Regions from separate parts of the Homo sapiens genome. Here all the other regions are linked to region 3. Evidence: promoter capture Hi-C in human tissues and cell types (Jung and others, 2019). All regions are on one chromosome and are shown on one strand. Each heading gives the region's core, a stretch centred on a gene start or on the middle of the fragment in contact. The rest is flanking DNA. Distances are from core to core; before and after follow the strand shown.

What was found. Contacts are between HindIII fragments. The study calls those that stand out against the background at their distance.
Region 1: a contact is called between a fragment that was not itself captured here and the fragment with the promoter of BOD1L2 in region 3, in 1 of the 25 tissues and cell types used here (H1 embryonic stem cells).
Region 2: a fragment that was not itself captured here is called in contact with the fragment with the promoter of BOD1L2 in region 3 in 8 of the 25 tissues and cell types used here (aorta, hippocampus, mesendoderm cells and 5 more).
Region 4: a contact is called between a fragment that was not itself captured here and the fragment with the promoter of BOD1L2 in region 3, in 7 of the 25 tissues and cell types used here (aorta, bladder, heart right ventricle and 4 more).

Annotation. Positions count from the first base shown.
Region 1 is chr18:57,094,621-57,097,320 of GRCh38, reverse strand. No RefSeq gene overlaps it. Among named protein-coding and RNA genes, the nearest start is that of LINC-ROR, 24 kb to the right of the region's middle. The HindIII fragment of the contact is 4,490 bases long and covers 1-2,700 here.
Region 2 is chr18:57,182,465-57,185,201 of GRCh38, reverse strand. No RefSeq gene overlaps it. Among named protein-coding and RNA genes, the nearest start is that of LINC02565, 13 kb to the right of the region's middle. The HindIII fragment of the contact is 4,241 bases long and covers 1-2,737 here.
Region 3 is chr18:57,145,837-57,148,726 of GRCh38, reverse strand. It overlaps BOD1L2 (biorientation of chromosomes in cell division 1 like 2), which reads right to left and starts at 1,640. Exons shown (of 1, transcript NM_001257964.2): 1 at 1-1,640. The coding sequence starts at 1,414. The coding sequence ends at 896. RefSeq lists an enhancer at 876-1,471. The HindIII fragment of the contact is 20,182 bases long and covers 1-2,890 here.
Region 4 is chr18:57,203,909-57,206,764 of GRCh38, reverse strand. No RefSeq gene overlaps it. Among named protein-coding and RNA genes, the nearest start is that of LINC02565, 34 kb to the right of the region's middle. The HindIII fragment of the contact is 4,703 bases long and covers 1-2,856 here.

The DNA.
Region 1 (2,700 bases), core at 27-2,526, 51 kb after region 3:
ACCTCACAATCAAGGAAGCATGATCGCAAATACTTATTGAGCACTTGTTTCATGCCATACTATCTTATCCCCAAGATAGCTCCATGAGGGGCATACCATTCTTACGTCTGTTTTCCAGACCAGGAAGCTGAAACTTTAAAAGAAATGTGCATCATGTCACACAGCTAGAAAGTGGCTAGGCTGGAATCCAAATGACTGCACTAGGCCACTTCCCAAAGAAGTCATTTTGGTGACCATCACGGTCATCAAAACATGACTTTCCCACAGACTTTGCACCCAGTGGGTCTCAGTCATGGGCGGTAGAAAGAGTTGCCCTGCATTGTAAGATATAGATAGAGGGCTTATGGGAAGATATAGAACTCATGGGAAGGTCCTTGACAAAATATTTTCTAACTGGTGTCAAAAATGTTGCTATTAATAATTTAATCCCTTCAAAGAAATAGCACATCAAGTCCCTAAGACTTCATGGTATGAAGAAATTTACCAGACATATTCCCATTCTAACAGTAAGGTTGTCACAAGGGTTTATGGGAGAGAGAGAGAGGGTAGAAAATGTAAAGATAGGGAAGTTGGCACTGAAAGCACGGAAGGTAGGGAGGTGGGGGGAGACAGATTCAGAAAATAAAGGTGAAGAATGAAGACCAGCTTCTCTGATTTTACAATTTGGCTTCTGGACCACGCGGATCTGGTCAGTTCCTACAGGAAATTGTTCTGGCCAGTGGGCATATCAGGTAAAAAGCTAGAAGCTCCTCAAAGTGTATTTTAAGTGTTTTGTTGTTGTTGTTGATGTTGTTCTTCTTCTTCTTCTTCTTGAGATAGGGCCTCGCTACGTTGCCCAGGCTGATCTTGAACTCCTGGGCTCAAGCTATCCTCCTGCCTTGGCCTCTCGAAGTGCTAAGATTACAGGCATAAGGCATTGCACCCAGCCTATTTAATAAAACATAATAAAAATGTAATGTTTTTATTACGTTCCAGCCTGTCTATATTGTGGGCTTTCTCCATCAGGAGCTGGGGTCTTCCTGTAAAACAACTCAGGTCCCAAACCTACCCAGGAAGACTCAGCCAAAATGTTGCAGTGTGTGTCCATCCAGGACTCACGCTATCTTGCAAAATCATTTTCCTTTGACTCTACCAGCCTGTGTGTCTGGTATTGTTCCTTCTCTTATCACTGCTCCCAAGCTGTCTTCCCCTGCATGAATCACTCTCTCTTGTTTCCCACTGCCTGACTTCTTAGCCTCAATATTTCTGCCTTCTCCCTTTGCTCTCTGCAGGAAACCGAAGTCTCAGATTTCACTTCTAACTGAAGCCTGACTTCTTTTCAGCGCGTATCAGAGCATCCAAGAACCCTTCAGACTCTAGTTTCCTCTGGCAGATGTGCTTGTCAGCAGCCACCCTGAAGGGCATCCCAGCCTGGGCAGTGCTCAGAAACTACTCAGACAAGGCAAACTGAGTGTGGGGGGTAGGGAGCACGAGACCCCACATCACAGGCTGTATTGCACCAAGCAGCAGGTTTGCCTGGGTGTAGTGCAAAGTTTCGTATTCATCTGAAAGCTTCGCTTTTGTCTAAGTGGCAACTACCTCACAGCATTGCTGCTTTGATTTAACATTACTATTCCTTCTCCTTCTCCTTCTCCTTCTCCTTCTTCTTCTCCTTCGCCTTCTCCTTCGCCTTCTCCTTCTCCTTCTTCTTCATGGAGTCTTGCTTTGTTGCCAGACTAGAGTGCAGTGGAGAGATCTCAGCTCACTGCAACCTCCACCTCCCGGATTCAAGTGATTCTCCTGCCTCAGCCTCCCAAGTAGCTGGGATTACAGATGCCCACCACTATGCCTGGCTAATTTTTGTATTTTTAGTAGAGATGGGGTTTCACCATGTTGGCCAGGCTGGTCTCAAAGTACTGAGCTCAGGCGATCTACCCATCTGGGCCTCTCAAAGTGCTGGGATTACAGGTGTAAGCTCATTGGTTTTCCCCAGGAAATGTGCAAGTCAGAAAATATCAAAATGTGTTCTTGTTAAGCCAGATTTCTGGAGGCTCTGGGGCCCTTCTGAAGCACAGATGTCCCCACCGAAAGGGGCCTAGAGTTCCAGTCCCCTCACTTCACAAAAAGGCTGGCTGCCAGGGCCACTCACCTAATTAGTGGTAGCATTTGGTTTAGAGCCCCAGGCTCTGAATCCCAGGCCAGTATCTTTTGACACACTTCCAATTTTCTTCTGAAAATTAGGAGTATAAAAAGCCCATAGTGAACACCTTCCAGAGTTGGAAGTCATTGAACAGAGGTCCGTAAAGAAAAGAACTTGAGCCCTTTGAGCAGGGCCTTCTCCTCTGGATCCCAGGACCCCTGGTGGGACTCATGAGAACCCCTCAAGGAGGCTGCATGTGGTTCAGCCTTACTAACCAGAAGTCTATGCCAGGGAGGATGGAAGATGAGGTGAAGAGGGAGGTACTGGCCAGAGCTCAAAATCTTGATCTGAGAGCTGGGGCAAGCTAGAGAATTGTTCCAAAGAGCAGGGTATAAGGCTCCATTGACACGGCGGGCCGCACAGGAGTGGGGAGGGTGGCTGGAGCCCAAGCAGAAGGAGATGCGTAAAGGTGAGGGATGCACTGGGTCACGGCACTGGACAGAGCGGGGGACCCACGGCCGGAACACAGAGGGTATGAGATCTGTAGGCTCTGGGGTGAGGCTGGGATCTCTTCCTCCAAC
Region 2 (2,737 bases), core at 199-2,698, 37 kb before region 3:
GGCCAGGAAAGAATTGAATGTTGTATTCAAAGTGCTAAAACAAAGAAAAAAAAAATGCCAGCCAAGAATACTATACACAGCAAAGCTATCTCATAAATGGAGGAATAAAGTCTTTCTCAGACAAGCAAGACTGGAGGGAATTCATCAATACTAGATGAGCCTTACAAAAAATGCTGACAGGAGTCACACATATGAAAGCAAAGATGATGAGTACCATCATGAAAACACACAGAAGTATAAAACTCACTGGTAGAGCAGATATACAAATGGAAAAGGAAAAAGGAATCAAACCTTATCACTATAGGAAACCACCAACTTGGCCAGGCACAGTGGCTCATGCCTTTACTTCCTAGAACTTTGGGAGGCCAAGATAGGAGGACTGCTTGAGTCCAGGAGTTCAAGATCAGCCTGGGCAACATAGTAAGACCCCGGCTCAACAAAAAATACAGAAATTAGCTAGGTATGATAGCACATGCCTATAGTTCCAGCTTCTCAGGAGGCTGAGGTGGGAGGATCACTTGAGCACAGGAGTTTGAGGTTGCAGTGAGCTATGATCATGCCATTGCACTCGAGTCTGGGTGACAGAGAGAGGCCCTGTCTCAAAAAAAAAAAAAAAAAAAAAAAAAAGTAGAAGAAAAGAAAACCACCAATGGGAGAGATAAATAATAAAAGGAATAAAAGAACAAACAATATATAAAACAACAAGAAAACAATTATTAAAATGACAAAAGTAAGTCCTCATCAATTAATAGCTTGAATGTAAATGTTTACATTTCACAGTTAAAAGATAAAGACTGACTGAATGAATTAAAAACCCCAACTATATACTGCTTAGAAGAAATTCACTTTACCTATGACTGAAAGTGAAGGAATGAAAAAAGATATTCCATGCAACAAAAGCCAAGAATGAGCAGAAGTAGCTATGCTTGTATCAGATAAAATACACTTTAAGTCAAAAACTGTAAAAAGAGACAAAGAAGGTCATTATATAACAATAAAGAGATATATTCTGTAGGAGAACATAACAATTGTAAATGTATATGTACCCCACACTGGTTCACTCAGATATATAAAGTAAACATTATTAGATCTAAAAAGAGAGAGATATTCCAGTACAATAATAGTTGAGAACTTCAACACTTCTCTTTCAACAATAGACAGATCACCTAGACAGAAACCAAAGAAACTGTAGTCTTAAACTGCACTATAGACTAAATTGACCTAACAGGCATTTACAGAGCATTTCATCTAACAGCTACAGAATATACATTCTTCTCATTAGCAAATGGAATATCTTCCAGAATAGACATATGTTAGGCCATAAAACAAGTCTTAGCAAATTTTTTAAAATTGAAATTATATCACATAGCTTTTTAGACAACAATGGAATAAAACTAGAAATCAGTAACAAGAGGAACTTTGGTAACTGTGCAAATACATGTAAATTTATAGTAGAGATGGGGTTTTGCCATGTTGGCCAGGGTGGTCTCGAACTCTTGACCTCGGGTGAAAAGCCCACCTCAGCCTCCCCAAGTGCTGGGATTACAGGCATGAGTCACCGCGCCTAGCCCTAAAATATCTTGAAACAAATGAAAAGAGAAACACAACCACAACCTATAGGTCAAAGCAGCACTAAGAGGGAAGTTTATGGCAATAAACACCTCCATTAAATCTTTCTAAGATTTCAATAAACAACCTAACAATGCACCTCAAGGAACTAGAAAAGCAAAAACAAACCAAACCCAAAATTAGTAGAAGGAAAGAAATAATAAAGATAAAATCAGAAATAAACACAACAGGGACTAAAAAATATATAAAAGTTTAACAAAAAATAGTTTTTTGAAAAGATAAAATAATTGACAAACTATTAGCTAGACTAAGAAAAAAGAAGTTCCAAATAAATAAAATTAGAAATGAAAAAAGTAATGATCCTAGTGATACTACAGAAATGCAAAGAATCATTAGAAACTATTATATGCCAAAAAATTAAAAAACCTTGTGAAAATGGATAAATTCCTGGATACATACAACCTACAAAAATTGAACAAAGAAGAAATAGAGAACCTGAACAGACCAATAATGAGCAACAAGATTGAATCAGTAATGGAAACTCTCCCAGCAACAACAAAAAGCCCAAGACTGGATGGTTTCATTACAGAATTCTACGAAACTTTTAAAAAAGAACAAACATCAGCTCTTCTCAAAATATTCCAGGGAAAAAAAATTGAAGGGGAAGGAATTCTTCCAAACTCATTCTTTGAGGCCAGCATTACCCTGATACCAAAACCAGAGAAGAACACAACAACAACAAAAGAAAACTACAGGCCAATATCCCTGATAAAGACAGGTGCAAAAATCCTCAGCAAAATACTAGCAAACAAAATCCAATAGTACATCAAAAAGATTATACAATATGATGAAGCAGGATTTAACCCAGGAATTCAAGGATGGTTCAACATATGCAAATCAATAAACCTTATACATCACATCAACACACTGAAGGACAAAAACCATGTGACTATGTCAATAGATGCATGAAAAACATTTGATGAAATTCAACATCCCTTTATTATAAAAACTCTCAACAAGTTAGGTATAGAAGAAATATACCTCAACACAATAAAAGCCATATATGACAAACTCATGGCTGACATCTTAATGGCAATAACTTGAAAGCTTTTTCTCTAAGAACTGGAACAAGATAAGGATGCACACTTTTATCATATTGTTCAACATA
Region 3 (2,890 bases), core at 391-2,890:
TGACCAGGGGCCCCATTATCACGGGCCTCATAAACCATGCCAGGTGTCTGACCTTCTAGAAATATCAGAAAACTGACGGAGCTTAAAGAGGAAAAGGATGTAAATCTGCATTTCTTTTTTGTTGTTGCAGTTGAAAGATAAGCCATTTATTGACCATCCACTTTTCAAATAAAACACAAATGTGAGCATAACATAAACACACCCAAGACTCACTAGCCCCTGCAAGACAGGAAGCATTCTTGGACAGAGAGTCTGCAAATGAGTTTCCTTATACCTAATGTCTGAACTTCTCACTCATTCTAGGGTTTCATGCTTTGTTATCTCTTACAAAGGAAAGGAAACTGGCTAGAAGATTCATGTACAAGAAGGTCACAACTTCAAAGCTATCTGACACTAATGTTGTGTACAATCTAGTTTGCAACTCTGAGAGACAATATCAAATAAGTACTGTCAAATATTCCTCCCAGTTAACCTTTACTGTCATTGTTCTTTGAAATTGTCTTTGGGATTGGTTATGTTCTCTCGCTGTAGCTTTCGTTTATCTCAGAGCACAAACCCTAAAATCCATGTGCAGTCTCCATGTTCAAGTATAGATGTCTGTTTCAGGACAATCCTGGGTCGCGGTAGTGTTTCCCTCTCTGTAGTGTGTGTTTGGTGTCATGCCCTTGGAAAGGCTGGCCAAATGGCAGCGCAATGCAGGAGGGTGCCACGGTCAACTTTCTCTCTGGCGAACTTGCTTCCCTTTCAATCTGGTCACTGCTCATGGTCGAGGTGGAAATCTTGAGCTCAGTGATGAACTTGGCTTATCTTCAATCTGAAACTGCACTCTTATGTAACCGAATCCATTTCTTCACCAAAAATTAAATAGCGCTTTCAAAAGCTGTCAGGCATATTCTTAGGAAGTGTCCTGAGACGGAGCTGGAGGGTCCTGGCCTTCTGGCTCTGGAGGGAGTGCTGGCACAGCTGCTTCTTTCTGGGCCACCAGGAATTCATGAATTATTTGTTCTATTTGTGGCCTGAAGATGTGGTTTAGTTTTGGATCCACCACCTGAGAACTAATCCTGTCCACTCCAGCTTCTGACCTCCCTGACTGAACCACACTCTGCCTCAGACCATCGTGCAGTTGGTTGTCGTTTGCTGGAGGATTCCATTCCTGCTTGTCCAGATGTGTCGACACAAAATTATCCGCTTTCTGGCTCAGGTTTTGGTAAGCTGGCTTGGTGTCCACGTCAGCCTTGCAGTCCCGGCGGAAGCTGTCAAAAAGGCCCCTGCTCTTGAGCTGCCCCACGATGATAGCGATGAGCTGAGGGTCGCCAGGGGGCAACGAGGCCGGGTTGATGGGGCCGCCGCCCCCGCTGGCCCGGGTCGAGGCCGGGCCCGCACCGCCGCTGCCGCCGCCGCCACCGTCCGCCATGGCTGCGCACCGGGCCCACAAGGAAACCGATTATAGCTTCTTCTCCAGGACAGAAAGCCTAGAATGTGTAGAGGTGGCTAAGGGGGCGGTGAAGGAGGAGGGCCCCAAGGAGGCAGCGGCGGAGGTGACGGTGGTGGTGATGGCGGCGGGGCCGGTGGTTGGGGCGGCGGTGGGGGAGGCCAGCTCCAGACCGCGGAGGTTGTGGAAGACGCGGCAGCAACCGCCTGCTGGATTCCAAGCGCGCTCCAGATGGCGTCACCGTTGACCTTTGCATTGTGAGGCGGGAACCGTAATCTGCATTTCTTAAAAGATCTCTAAGAGGGAGGTGGGAAACAAATGCCAGTGGGCAAGGGCGAAACAGGGAGACAATTTCAGCAACCATTTCAGTGCCCTAAGAAGGAGATGGCGAGGAGTGAATGATCTTCGTGGCCTGGCAGGTGAAGAAGGTAACAGGGATACAAGAGATATTTAGGAGATAGACTCATCCCAGGGATTGGAGAACAACGGGGTGAGGGACGAGGGAAAGGAGAGGGTCAAGGATGACCCCCAGGCTTCTCACTTGGGCAGGTGCATGGAGGTGCCATTTACTAAATGGAGAACAGGTATAGAGGTGAGGATGGGAGACAGAGACATGATCGTGCATTCCATTTTTATTTACTAGTTTAAGATGGGTATGGGTTATTCAGATGCAGACATCTGCCTATGAAGTCCAAAGATACAAGGACTAGGGGCTGGGGAGAGACATCTAACTCACTGAAGGTAGAGACTATAGGTGGCAATTACAATGGAGAACTTAGAAGAGATAGAGGAACACCTGGAGAGCCCATGAGGGGGACTGAGAACAACACTAAAAAGATGGAGGGAAAACTACAAAAGCCTTGGATCATAGACCGCAAAAGGTACATTTCATGAAGGCCATGGGTGAAATGCCACACTATGTTCCACAAGGTGTCCATTGGCTTTGGTAGCCATTGATGAGCCTAGGGCAGATGTGTCAGTCAGAAGGAGGTCATTTCAACAAGAGAACTGTATTGCAACCAAGAGCCACAAAAGGCAACCACATCCAGCGCCATCCAATAGAGAAGTGCAGGTGCACAGAAAGAACCTTCTATCAATATTTCAAAAGAAAAGCAGATCCCTGATTTCACCCCAACACTCACTTCCCTGAATTAAAATGCCCCTGAGATGTAGACACCACATTGTTCTATAAGCCGTAACATAGCTTAAAGGTAGTATATTTCACAAAGAAAGTTTACACAACAGACTCTGTCAATAACCTCACCCCATAGCTTCTGACATACAAGTACAGATGCCTCAGATGGACGTATTCTGAATCTCATCCCACAGGAGACAGTGAACCTACCAAGACTTCACCACAGCAACCCCCTACCTATGCTCCTCACCATCCCCATGATCAGCTCGACAATTCAGTTCTGTATTTTTTTAAATTAATCAATATTTATTGAGGGACTAGTC
Region 4 (2,856 bases), core at 182-2,681, 58 kb before region 3:
TTGGACCCAGAAAATCTGATTCTGGATGGGTTCTCTAAAATGCCTGTTCTCTGCCTTTTGTTAAAGGCACAGACTTTGGAATTGTTATAGAATCCTACGGGGATTTGTTGAGGGGGTGGGGGGACATTTCCATGTTATCTCTAAGAAGCCCTAGGTCTTGGAACATGCTTAGAAAACCTCTCAGCATTCTGAGCTTCAGGGGAAGTTTTGTCCATACAAACTGTCAGGACAGGGATAAGACTACTGTGGGACGGGGGGAAGGGCCACAGCCAGTGGACACTTAAAATTGGCCTCTGGTGCCCACATGTAAGGCTGACATGGCCTCCATCCCTTTGGGGAGTACAGAGGAAATACTAGAATTTTCAGGCAGAAACCTGACATCCCTCTAGGGGAGCATCTGGATCCCTGGGACTGTCACCTTCTAGGGGAGCATCTGGATCCCTGGGAGTGTCACCTTCTAGGGGAGCATCTGGGCCCCTGGGAGTGTCACCAGCACTGCCTTCCTGGTGGTCACCCTCACAGACCAGAGACACAGCTCATAATCACCCTCAGCTCTTTGCCTTCAGTTGTAGACAAATCACAGCCTGGCTGAGGAAGAAAGAGCTGCCCGATCAGGGCACTTCAGTTTCTGGAGTCTGGTGAGGTATCCGACCAATATTCACCCAGTTAAATTTCCCTGGGGCTGAGGAGGTTGGATGTACCCTGTTATCTTCCCTTACTGTTTTAGAATCCAGTGTGGGAAGGAATCCATTACCAGGGAGGTCTGAATGTTCACTCTTCACTGAGCTTCAATTTATATTTTTTCTTTTGAAAAAGGAAAGGGCTTTCTTCAGTTGTTGTAGGCATGTTTCTATGCTAGAGCTTTAAATTGCGCTTCCTTAGTTCTGTTTTCAGGAACACGCAGTTCTCCCCTGCCAGCCTTTTCCAAAGCACACTGAATGGAGCATTTTAGAAATTTCACTGCAGAATGTAATTATTGTTCAGACCCATTCCAGATACGTCTGGCACTCATTTTCTCTCCTCATTCTCCTTCATTAAAACATATAATCAGATGAAGGGGTTGCCATGAATGGGAAGAAGAACTTCCTGGTACTCAAAGGCAGCGTCTCTTCATTAAAGAATGTGTCAGTCGCCCACTAGGAGAGCTCAGGGAGGCATTAGCTGTGGCTCTAGGACTGTGAAATCTGACTGCAGAGGACCTTAAAGCTTGACTCATGTATGGGTGGTAAAGATGGCATCAAGTCATCAGGCTCATCCTGCTCTTGACTGCTGGTGAAACTGGCTAGTGTATTTGGACCTGAAAGAATCTGAGACACCTGAACTCATCCTGGATCCAAGCAGCATAATACAGAGCTCCCACCGAAATGCTCTAAGGGCCCTTCTGTGTAGGCATAACCTAAAATCAAACATCAAAACAAAACCTGTACAGCCAGAATTTAAAAGACTGACAATACCAAGAGTTGACAACAATATAGATCAAATGGAATACTCACATGTTAATGGTGGGAATGAAAAATGGCACAGCCATTTTGGAAAGCAGTTTGGAATTTCTTACAAAGTTATTTATATACTTACCATGAAACCACACAAACTAATTCTTAGGTATTTGCCCAAAATAAATAAGAATAAATATTCACACATTAACTTGTACATGAACATTCAGAGTAGATTTATTCTTTTTTTTTTTTTTTTTTTTTTTTTAGACAGAGCCTTGCTCTGTTGCCAGGCTGGAGTGCAGTGGCGTGATCTCGGCTCACTGAAACCTCCAATTCCCTGGTTCAAGCGATTCTCCTGAGTCAGCCTCCTGAGTTGCTGAGATTACAGGCATGCACCACCACACCCAGCTAATTTTTGTATTTTTAGTAAAGATGGGGTTTCACCATGTTGGCCAGGATGGTCTTGATCTCCTGACCTGGTGATCTGCCTGCCTCGCCTCCCAAAGTGCTGGGATTACAGGCGTGAGCCACCATGCCCGGCTGATTTATTCTTAATAGTCCAAAACTGAGAGCAACCCAAATGTCCATGAACAGATGAATATGTCAACAAACTATGGTATATCCATTCAGTGGGATACTCTTCGGCATTATATAGGAATGAACTAACTGATACATACTGATGGATAGATTTCAAAACATGTTGAATAAAAAAAGCCAGACATCAAAGAGTGCAGATTACATATGCTTAACTCTAGAAAACAGTAATCTAATCTATAATGACAGAAAGTAGATCTGTGATTAGCTAGGGCTGGAGTGGAGGAAAGTGACAATTGACTGGGAAAGGACTTAGAGGGACTTTGGGGGGTAATGGAAATGTCCTCTATCTTGACTATAGTGGTGATGGCATGGGTATATAAATTTGTCACAACTCATCAAAATTTACACTTAAATGCATTTTACTGTATATAAATTATACCTTAATAAAGTTTATTTTAAAAGTGGGGTCTATGTCTCATGGTTCTGGGACCTGAATTAGAGAATTTATTCAGCAAATTGATGGAAAGAGAAACTTAAAGTTCTCTTAGCTTCTGTTTCTTATTTAACAGAGACAAAGGACCAGAGGGGTTGAGACTTGCCCATCCTTATATGGTTTCCTAACTTACAGTACTATCTTCTTTGCGGTAGACCTCTGGATGCTCACTCTGGAAGTAGAAATTAGATGTCCTAAAATGCCAGCATGTTGCAGAAGGGAAGAACTTGACACCACGAAGCTTAGCATTGGGTCCTGAGTTGGGGCCTCTCTGCCTATCTGAGGGAGTCATCTCTAGGCCTTCTCTCCTCCCCCTTATCTCTCTTTCCACTGCCCAAATCTTCCATATCCTCAAGGCCCAGCTCTTAGGTATAGCCTCCTAGGATTACC